Linked DNA regions of Homo sapiens: region 1 is linked to region 2. The links are contacts of gene promoters, found by promoter capture Hi-C in blood cells and fetal thymus (Javierre and others, 2016). All regions are on one chromosome and are shown on one strand. The core of a region is centred on a gene start or on the middle of the fragment in contact, and the rest is flanking DNA. Distances in the headings are between cores, read along the strand shown.

Region 1 (5,346 bases), core at 1,485-3,984, 1.9 Mb after region 2:
TAATGATTGGTGATAATCATGTTCTTGATTCATTTGTGTTTAAAACAACTGAAAAGGAAGAATAAGTTTTAAAACTTTTTATTCAGATTCAGAATATTTTATATTTCAACTAAATTTTAAACTTTCTAAATGAAAGTTTACAACTTGAAGTTCACACTGCTGTATTGCTTTAAAACTTAAAAGCAAATAAACTTTGTCAACTAAAATCAAAGTAACCAATATCTGGCCTGCCTGTCTCTAAGATGGCCATGCTGTCACCGCATTCATTATTCACAGTCAGTGACCCTTAGACCAATGCTTACACAAGATTTCTTTCAAATATGACACTGTGGAGATGGCCACAGGAGGTACTACAAAAACCAAGTGCTCGATTACCACTTAACATGTTCAGCTTGAAATGACTGCTACCTTTGCCTTCAATTCCTTCCCACACACCCAGGTATACAAATATCTTTTATACCAAGAGTCCTTGTGAAAGTAAATAGAGGGAACTCCCAGGGATAAGGGAGGGCAAAAAACAGGAAGCACTTGAAGCCAAAATCTGGAGCAACTTTTAAGAAGGAAGAGACGTCCGTCCTATTTTCATATCTCTGCATGGATCTCCCATGGAGAACTTGAGTTAAATGTAATGATTACACGTGGCAGAAAGACAACTCTCTAGCACAGTGTTTCTTTCACATAGGCTGCTACATTGATTCCATAAGCTCAACAATTTTAATAAAAAATATTTCTGCTAAATACTTTATATTCATCATCATAAAAAATGCACAGCCATTTGAAAAAAGGGCAATTACCCTAAATGAATATTGCCAAAGCACAGATCAACTTTATATAGGATTTCTTTCCTTGTTTCTGAAAAATCGCAAACAGAACTGGCAGACTTTATTTAACAAACATTGATTTTGTCCAGGCATGGAGTTTAAATTTTAGTGCATGTGCTGGAGGCAGGGAGAAGTGATGCGAGAAAGTAAAGCAACGACAGGTCATGCGGGGACCAGTGCTACAAAGAAACTAAAGCCAGGGGAAGGGTTGGGGAGGCATGGAGTGGGGTAGGACTACTAAATTTAGACAGAATGGGGTGCTAGAAAAGGTTGACTATGCTGTGGTAACAAATTAGCCCCTGAACCCCAGCGGTGTAGCATAAGTTTATCTCTTACCCACATTCTACGTCCACCACAGGTCACCAGTGGCTGTGCTCTAGTCATTCAGGGACACAGCTGGATGGAGGCTGCACCATCTGAGACACGGGGCACCTCCCTAGTCCTGCCAGAGCCGCAGTAGCAGTGGACCAGAGCTGGAAAGTCACACATGGAGCCTTAAAGTCTTTAAGCAATAAGCCACAACTAGTACCATGGCCCCACCTACTGCAAGAGGGCTGAGAAATGGGAGGAGTTCATAGCATGAGCAATCAATAACTGTCACTGATATCCAGGGAAGTCGTCTCTGACACAGGGAAATCTAAGCAAAGACCAACTAAAGAAAGAAGCTACACAGAAAGTTGGAGACAGGATGATGTCATTTATGATTCCAAGAAATATTCTGTTTGTCTGCCATTTGTTTCCAGTGAACAACCACATCAAATCTTTAATTTAGATATTTTGATAATTAAATGCATTAAAAATCTGTCTCTATTTCTATGCTTAGTTCAAGTAATAGCTTACCTCAGTGATTTTAACAGTCTTACATACCATATAGTATCACTGCCCTTACATTACATCCTTCAATAATTATCCCCTCCCGAGTAAAATCATAATACAAGGGCTGACAAACTCATTCTTGATTGACACACATCTCGACTCCTCACTCATTTCTTCTCCACATATTATTATTTTCTCATTACTTACCTAAAATTTAACCTTATAGATAATGAAAAGGGTTCTGAACATTAAGAAATAATAGAATAGTTATAAATGGAGGAAAAAGTTTGAATAAAAAAGTTTCTTAAAAGGATAGTGTCACTTGCAAAAATAGCTCTTTGAAATACAGGTTCCTATAAACATTTTACACGCATTAAGATATTACTCTTACACATACTGGTAACACAGACACTATACATATTTGTCTCCATTTTAGGAAGAAATGAAGCAAGGCTATTTTTAATAATAAACTTAGAAACAATTCATAACCCCTAGTATTTGCATTAACCTGCAAATACTAGGCAGCACACCACAGCAGAGTGTAACTAAAACCTAAAATAGTGTTTCACTTTCTTCCACACCTACCTCTGTGCGCTCATGCAAGTGTTTTTATTTTGCTTTGCATTAGATGCTTCTGTAATACAGGCATCTGATTCACCCCACATAAAGCTGTTGTAAGTAATCAATGTGAGAAAGTCTACTTATTGTTAAGCATATTTGTATATTTTTTACTAGTTATTTCATACTTGCCCTGAAAGAATACACATTCAAAAAGCTTGAAATTAGGCAATGTCAGTCTCATCAAACAAAACCAGCATTGGAAGCGAATATTAACAAATATCAGAATGAAATTACAAAATATACATCTCCAGCCTCATAAAACATGAATTTTATAAGCACTTTCATAAACATAAGAAAAATAGCTTTGACAATAACTATTTGAAAACATTATTATTAATAATCTTGTATACTGTACATGTGCACTTAAATGTAATAGCACCAACATTCATTATATTATGAAGGGGATACTTTATAAGAATTATAAATTATTTTTACATGATTAAATAATTTTGGCAGAGTAAGTCCGCAGGACTTAAATAACCAGTCAGCCTTAGTATCTACATCTGGACCAGGAAGCCTTTGTGTTACAGACACAGATTCCCTGTGAAGTTCTCCAGGGTGTAAAGAAGGCCCCAGGGAGGTGCCGACGGGATGTGAGGGCTGCCTTTCAGCTCAGGCGAGCCTGCAAGCAACAGGGCAGTTTGGGAAGGGTCACAGGCACAGGAAGGGAGCAGTGGGCAACCATTGATTACATCAAACCAGGATGGTTTCTTCTTTTTAAAGAAACTTTTGTTGAGTGTTTACCCACCCCCATCCACACAAATATGCTCTCTAGGAAATGTGAAAGTATAAGCTTCAGAAAAATGTTTTTCTCATCCTTTAATTTCTGGTTTTATGATCAAATGTTCCGAAGACACTGCTTCTTTTTGCTCAAAATAGTTGACATTGTCATTGCTTCTAGTTTTTCAGCTCCTACTATGCTTACTATGTCCATGGGTGCCATTGACGTCTTTGGCTATTTATCATCTCTAGAAAAGAAAAAAAAACATTAAAATTTTAGGATGTAGGATTCACAATAAATCTCTTACCAAATCCTCCTTAAATCCCTAAACTCTCTACCTGGCTCTGACTCCAGGATCACCCTTTCAGTTCTTTCCATGTTTTTCTTCGGAAAATGTAGTTTCCTAACCTTTCTACCCACCCTTCTCGTCTACTCTTAGGTCTGCAGCCACAGTGATAGTTCTAAGTTGCAAACCTGATCATGTCCTTCCAGTACTTAGTCTTTCAAAAATCTTCCTACTTCCCGCAGAGTGAAGCCTGAACTCTTTAATAGGCATCTAAGGACTTGGACCCGGATCCTGTTAACCTGTTAATTCATCTTTGCCTCTAACTCCCTCCCTTCATCTTTCAAGGCACAGCGCAGGACTTAACTCATTGTGAAAGTACTAAGCCTTGATGTATCTTTAGGAAAAACACACGTATACACACACACGCATGCAAAGAGAGGAAGCATAGCTTAGTGGTTAACCTACATAGACTGCAACTTGCTTAAATAATCCAGTATTTATCTATGTTTTAATAAAATTGTTTTAATAAAAATATATGAAATTCATCTATCTTTTCTCTGGAATGCTTTTGCCTGTTCAAAGATTATACAATGCTCCCGTATGTTACAGAGGAAGCCGTCCCTTCATTTATAAAAGACAGTTAACACATAGCACAAAAACTCTAGAGTAGGATGGATCCGCAACTACTGTACTGGAAATATGCTAAATTAGGGTTCTGATTAGAGTTAATGGAATTAACTTGGGTGAGAGAAAATACTCACCATTAATCTAGGGGTAACAGAGGAGTTAAACTCCAATTCAGAAACAGAGCAGTTCAAAATCAGAATCTAGAGTCAGCCTACATGGGCTTGATCTGGGAATGTGCCCTTTATTAGACGTGTAACCTTGGGCTGCTGCTTGACTGAATAGGTCTTCGATTCCTCATGGAATGAATATAATAAGATCTGATGAATGCAATTAGACAGTGCCTGAAACAGTAGTCTTAAGTAGGTATTTTTGTTGTCCCACTTTTTGAGAAACAAAACCAAAGTCAATTCAATTAAAACTGCAGGTTTCTTGATTTCATCCTAATACTTTGCAAATTAATCACAGAACCCAAGTGAAATTGCCTAGACTCTCAAAGAGTTCGAAAAACATTTCTAATACACTCAAAATTTTCCTAGTTGACGTTCACAGATTATCAAGAGTAAAGCACCTTCATACAGTTTTGATCCTCACACTGTCTAAATCTGAGGAGCTGTCAGGAAAGACATGTAAGGAGAGATCTAAGCTAAAACTCAAACCACACATGAGGCTTTTCAACTGTGACCAACTTGTAGTTAAAATTCAGTTTATGCTTTTCTGTCCACCTAAGAGCAAATTAAACCTTTAAGAAAGCAAAGGATAAAATCATTGTTAGCTCAAGCATTAAAAAAGAAAATAACTGAATATATCTTCTTCAACTCTCCACCCCTAGGGATGAGAACTGCACCTGGCAAACAAGAGGACATTCAACACGTAGTAGCTGTTAAAATGAGTAACTCCCCAAAAGCACTATTAGAAGGCGATATAGTTATTATGACCAAGTTCTGCGGAAACATGGTGTTGAAAACCTTACTGAAGCTAACAATGTGCGTCACCTTCCAGGAGCCACACACACATCCTGAGGGCTTCCCAGATCAACCCCTCATCCCCGCGACAGAGCCACAATCCAGCACCACCTTCCCAGGACTCTCAGCTGAGGCCCCAGCCCCCGCAGGCCCAGGGACGACGCGGCGGGCAGGGCACATGCCTGCGTCGGGCCAGGTGGAAGCTCGGAACGACCACAGGCCCCCGGGGCGCGCCCCTCCCCGTCACGCGCCCCGTTTCCCACGTCCACGCATGCGGTTTCCCCAGGCCTGGAAAGCGTCTAGAGCCAAAGAGCCCAGGGGCTTGCCCGCGCAGAGGCCGACGTGGGGCCCAGGGACGCGCTCCCGGGGTCCTCCCCGCCGAGCCCGCAGCCAGCACCCGGAGCGATCCCCCGAGCCCGAGGGGCGTGGGAACCACGCGCGCAAGCCGGCTGCCCTTCCAGTCCCGGGACGCTTCCCCATCAGGCCAGTGCT
Region 2 (5,388 bases), core at 2,526-5,025:
CGTAAAGCATAAAGAACAGCTGCTTTGGTATTCTGTAATAAAATTACTAAGACTTTGTATTATGTTGTGCTAATACAAGCAGTAATTTAGCAAAATGGAAAAGAAAAAAAAAAAAACCTCAGCTTTATATCACTGAGCCGAAATGTGGGCATTCTATGACAAAATGTTTAATATTATCTTTGAGAACTGCACATCAACACTTGCAACATCTATTCCAATATTGTACTGCTTTTCCTTTAAAAAAAAAAAAAAAAAAGTATATCCTTGACCAAAGGATAGACTTTTCTCTGAAACTGAGAAATCTCAGTGCATTACAGGATCGGACTCCTAACCCATAAAATGAGGAGGGCAAATGTCTAAGGTCTCCTATAGCTCTGAAGTTTAAAAATGTCAGGATGGATAGCAGTTGACATAACACATCTGCACTCATACAAATAACATATACACAGTAAGAATGATTTATCCATCCCTGTATTATGAGAATGGATTATAAACCTGTTGATTTTACAAAAATTAATTTAATACTGAAGAAACTTTAGAGATCTTTAAAATCTAGCAAACAATTAGTATGAAACAGCCATGTCGGAACTAAGTATTACTACAAATGCATAACATTCTGAGCATCAGACTATCATATATGGTACCATCAGAGGCAAGCAATGTGCTATTTTTAAAAGGAAGGGAAGACTTACTATACGCACGGTTGATGTGTTTGTAACATTCTTAATCTCTTTGCTCAGAATATTAAAATATATTTTTAAAGGACAGAGAACCGGCCAGGAACGGTAGCTCACGCTCGTAATCCCAGCATTTTGGGAGGTTGAGGCGGACAGATCACCTGAGGTCAGGAGTTTGAGACCAGTCTGGCCAACATGGCGAAACCCCATCTCTACTAAAAACACAAAAATTAGCAGAGGGAGGTGGCGCGCTCCTGTAATCCCAGCTACTCAGGAGGCTGAGACAGGAGAATCGCTTGAACCTGGGAGGTGGAGGTTGCAGTGAGCAGAGATCATGCCACTGCACTTCAGCCTGGGCAACAGGGCAAGACTCCATCTCGGAAAATAAAATAAAATAAAATAAAATAAAATAAAATAAAATAAAATAAAATAAAATAAAATAAAATAAATAAAAAACAGAACCACAACAGTATAAGTGTTTTCAAAAGTAGGTGATACTGATTTTTTTTTAATTTAGTTTTATGTTTGGCCATACTTTGAATATCTCCTACCAAAAAATTTCTAAGCAGATTTAAAAAACCTAAGTCGCATTTTTTAAAGAAATAACCTATAATAACTGATTTCACAAATAGAACATTTTTTATTAGTTTTTTGGCATCTTTGCTATATCATTTTTAATCCTCTATAACCCTCCCTTTTCCTTTAAGTGTTATTTCAACTTAAATTTAATTGTAAAAATGTCAGAAGACTTCCAAACTGGAATTTTGCAAAAGCAGGCATGAGAATACGGCACTAAAATTCACTTGCATTTCATGACTAATAATTTCATAAAACAAAATAAAGCAAAATAAAGTTTCCACCAAATTATATAAATGATTCATCCTATAGAGGGAGTGACAAAAATAAATTTCAACATTGGACTTGTAGTATACACTCATAAATAAATAATCTAATTTAAGTGCGACTCTGACAGACATGAGTCTGAATCTTGCCTCTGCCATTTACTACCTGTATTATCCTGGACAAGTTACTTAATCATACTAACCATCAGTTTCCTCATCTGTAAAATGAAAATGCCGACTACCTAACGATGTGAGAGAATTAAATGAAATGTATATAAAGTGTTTAGTAAAGCACATACTACACGTTGAGTCTTCAGCACATGTTATTTTAACAGGCAACAGTGTTCAATAAATAAATGTTATGTATACCTTATCCTGATTATAATTTTACAAGAGAAAAAATATATTTAAGCACTAGAAGTACAGTGAAAATATTTCATGATTCCATACGTGCTTCGAGCGCAATTCCTGAATTACCACAGATTACTGTCACACCATAAAAGTATGCAAGTAGCAATGCCCAGGCCAAAAGAATGAGAATTGAATGTAATACGTCCGTACCTATCCTGTGATAAATACATGCCTTACTAGATTTACTCATTAAAACCTGAATCTAAAAGGATGTGAAACCTATGTAGATGGAAATTTACACGCAAGGACCACCTGTCAAAAAGAAATAGTTCGCAACCTTCAGCAGTTTCGCTTTACTATTTTTTCCAAAGGCGTCTCCAGTGGCGATTAGCTACACTCAGTGTATATAATAAACACACTGTGGCATAATGAAAGGGAAATTACTTGCAATCAGAATGCCTAGGTTCAAATCTGCCTCTTACTACCTGTGTAAAGCTTCGACAAGCTATTAAAATAACGAAGCCTACATTTCCACATCTATAAAAGATAATACCTACCTATTCCACAGGCTTTTTACGAAGATGGAACGCGAATGTACATCAAGTGCCACATGTTATAGTTGAGGTATTTATTAAAGGCAAGACTTCTTTAAAAAAAAATAAGTCGTTATCAACTCATTACATAGATAATATCAAACTTTTTTCACTCATTATTGCACTCCATGACGGCGTTTGATAATTCATTTTCGTTTAAAATCGCCAAAATCGCAACCCATAAGGTTGAAAGACGCTCATACCCCCATAAATATACCTAAAGTAGAAAAGCATTTGCACGATAACCGGAACATCAAAAAAAGCAAAATTTAGTAATTTCCTCTATAAACTCACCACTCATTTAAAAACACAGCTGGTTAAAAATAATCTACTACCTTCAGTGGGTAAGAAAATGCGTTTGAAGAGACATAAGGTGTGGACGTTTATATCTTAAGTATTCATTTTACAAGGGTCAGTTTGTTCAATGTAACCGTATCCAAAACACAAGCAATCGCAAAACAAAACAAACAGAACCCTGCTTATAGGTGTCAAGGATTTAAAACCAAATGGATCGCAACAAAAGAGCCTCCCCGTTTAGTAAACAGATTCTCGAGCGGCAGGCAAGCCGAGGACCAGGCTTTTCAACAGGGGTCAGCTCACTCCACTCGGCCGTCATCTGGCGGGGTATTTTTCGCGAAGTTTCAAAGTCAACAAAGAAGTTCTGTCGCGAGGGGGTAGGGCCTGGCGAGCAATAGGCAGAAGGACGTAAAGAAAGACAAAACCCAGTGGGGGAAGGGTGCGGAAAACGCCCCCGGACGGCAGCGACAGAGGCCCCCTTTTCTGGGCCAGCGCGCGACGGCGGGGACAAGGGAGGCCACGCCGGCCTGCAGTAGCCCCGAGGCCCCGACCCCGGCCCCGGCCCCTGCCCGGCAGGGTCCCCGCCCCCCTCGGCGGCGCGGGCGGGAAACGGCGGGGGGCGCGCAGAGGGTCACCTTCCGCTCCCCGGCCCAGAGGCCCAGCGGGTGGACAAACGGCCCAGGCGTCCGCCCCGCCGCGATCCAGCAGCCCACCTCGAGCGCCGCGGACCTGGCCGGGGTACGAACCCGGGCGCCGACGCAAGGGCTCGGGCGCCGCGCGTCGCCGACTTACCTTCCTCCGCGGTGTCCATCTTGTCTGGGGGGGCGGCGGTGACGCAGCCACGAGGCTCCCGCGGCCGGGCGGGGAAAGAGGGAGGGGAGAGGAGGAGGGAGCCGGGCCCGGGCAGGTGCGTACGCTCAGGTGCGAGAGAGGAAGCGAGAGGAAGGAGAGGGGAGAGGGAGAGGGAGAGAGGCTGACAGAAAGCGAGCGACACGGGAGGGGGAGGGGCGGGAACACCTAGGGGCGAGGCCTGGGCGGGGCGCCGAGGCGGAAGGGGCGGGAGCTCCCCAACGACAGGCGCTGTCACTTCCGGCGGCCGCGGCGTGCACTGTCGGTCGGCGGCTAAGGAGGGGAGGCACCTGCATCTGGGGCGCGGCGAATCCTCGCGTGCGCCAGGCCGCCTGGGGTAGTCGCCGAGACTGCGCCGGCCAGCGGGGCCGAAACCTAATCAGGAGCTGAGCTTTGATGGCGGCTTCTGGAGGGACAAAGAAGGCGCAGAGCGGTGGGAGGAGGCTGCGAGAACCTAGCTCCCGCCCCAGCCGACGTGCGAGACAAAGGCCCCGGCGCGGGGCTCTTCGGAAGGCCGGGAGGTTCCTGTGACAATGCGAGTCTGCGCCCCACGCTCCCGCACCGTGATGCCGAGGCCAAATGGCTAGAGTGGGCCCAGGCATCAGCATTTCTGTTTGGCAGCCGGGCAGTTGTGGTGCACGTTTTGAGGAACTACTAAAGCCTGCCTGTGATGAAAAAGGCAAAAGCTGACTTCACCAAAATTACTCCCAGGGAGACTTCTGCATTTGGCTGGAAGGACATTTGAGTAAACCGCTGAGGCTGGTGGTTGAAACATAATCCTCTAAGGGAGATCGGTTCCGATACCCTGAGTTAGGGACGCTTGCCTGGGCAGAGCTAAGGGGAGAATGATCAAAAGCCAAGCTCTGTCCCCGTCAGCACGTCACCCTCCCTCACTGTAATCCCTGACTGTTTTCTCTAAATGAAGAATTATTTAGAGAATATAAATTAGAAGGGCCGCCACGTCAGAATTGCCTGAGTGGGAGCAGTCTTTCCAGCCTCGAAAAATGTTTAAACAATATGCAGATGACCTAGCACAAATAAAGAATGCTAGCAACCGCTGTTATGTGTGAGCGGTGGAATTGGGAGGGCTCTTCCCCCAATCTTCATCAAACAGAGTAAGGTTTAGAATAAAAATAATGAAATACAGTCTTTCAAAAAGAGCAGCGCTTGACTAATGTTACTGATGTCACTCATGTTACTCAAGGGAGGAAAGAACTCAAACTCTACATAATAATACCCACTGATTTCAAGGGCTGGCACGGAGAATTAAGCAGACCGCCATTCTTTATATTTGTTTTTTTGTTGTTGTTTGCTTATGATTTTTTTCTTTCTTTTTTTTTTTTTTTTTTTGAGAAGGGGTCTCGCACTGTCACCCAGGCAGGAATGCAGTGGCGCGATAATGGCTCACTGCAATCTCACTATATTGACCAGTATGATTTTCAACTCCTGTCTTTAAGCGATCCTCACGCTTCGGCCTCCCAAAGTGCTGGGGTTACAGACATGTGCCACTATGCCCTGCCTAAATATGTTTATATATACTACCGCCAAAGAAACAATTTGAAGACGATCTTTCCCCAGCCCCTCTCCTTCTGATCCAACTCCAAGAGCTCACCCTCCCTGTAAGACCTGTAGCAGAGCACGTATTGGCCTGCTGATACTAGGGGCAAAGACCGGGCCGATCAGATGTTACATGGCATAAGGGCGAAGGATTCTGAAAGAAAGACTGAGACTTGCTGGAGGAAGTACTAGTAGTGCCAAGGGCAGGTATGTGACCCTCGG

What was found. The method cuts DNA at HindIII sites, captures the fragments that hold promoters and counts their contacts. A CHiCAGO score of 5 or more calls a contact.
Region 1: a contact is called between a fragment that was not itself captured here and the fragment with the promoter of MARCHF6 in region 2, in 2 of 17 cell types (naive CD4 T cells and activated CD4 T cells). The highest score is 5.3, in naive CD4 T cells.

The regions. Positions count from the first base shown.
Region 1 is chr5:8,457,813-8,463,158 of GRCh38, reverse strand. It overlaps MIR4458HG (MIR4458 host gene), which reads right to left. Exons shown (of 2, transcript NR_039989.1): 2 at 63-3,226. It overlaps MIR4458 (microRNA 4458), which reads right to left and starts at 2,234; the gene lies at 2,160-2,234. RefSeq lists silencers at 5,143-5,202, 5,213-5,262. The HindIII fragment of the contact is 639 bases long and covers 2,415-3,053 here.
Region 2 is chr5:10,352,082-10,357,469 of GRCh38, reverse strand. MARCHF6 (membrane associated ring-CH-type finger 6) reads right to left here and starts at 3,775. Exons shown (of 26, transcript NM_005885.4): 1 at 3,553-3,775. The coding sequence starts at 3,571. MARCHF6-DT (MARCHF6 divergent transcript) reads left to right here and starts at 3,413. Exons shown (of 3, transcript NR_183261.1): 1 at 3,413-3,498. RefSeq lists enhancers at 2,539-3,110, 3,957-4,216 and silencers at 3,167-3,636, 3,677-3,816. The HindIII fragment of the contact is 4,878 bases long and covers 2,368-5,388 here.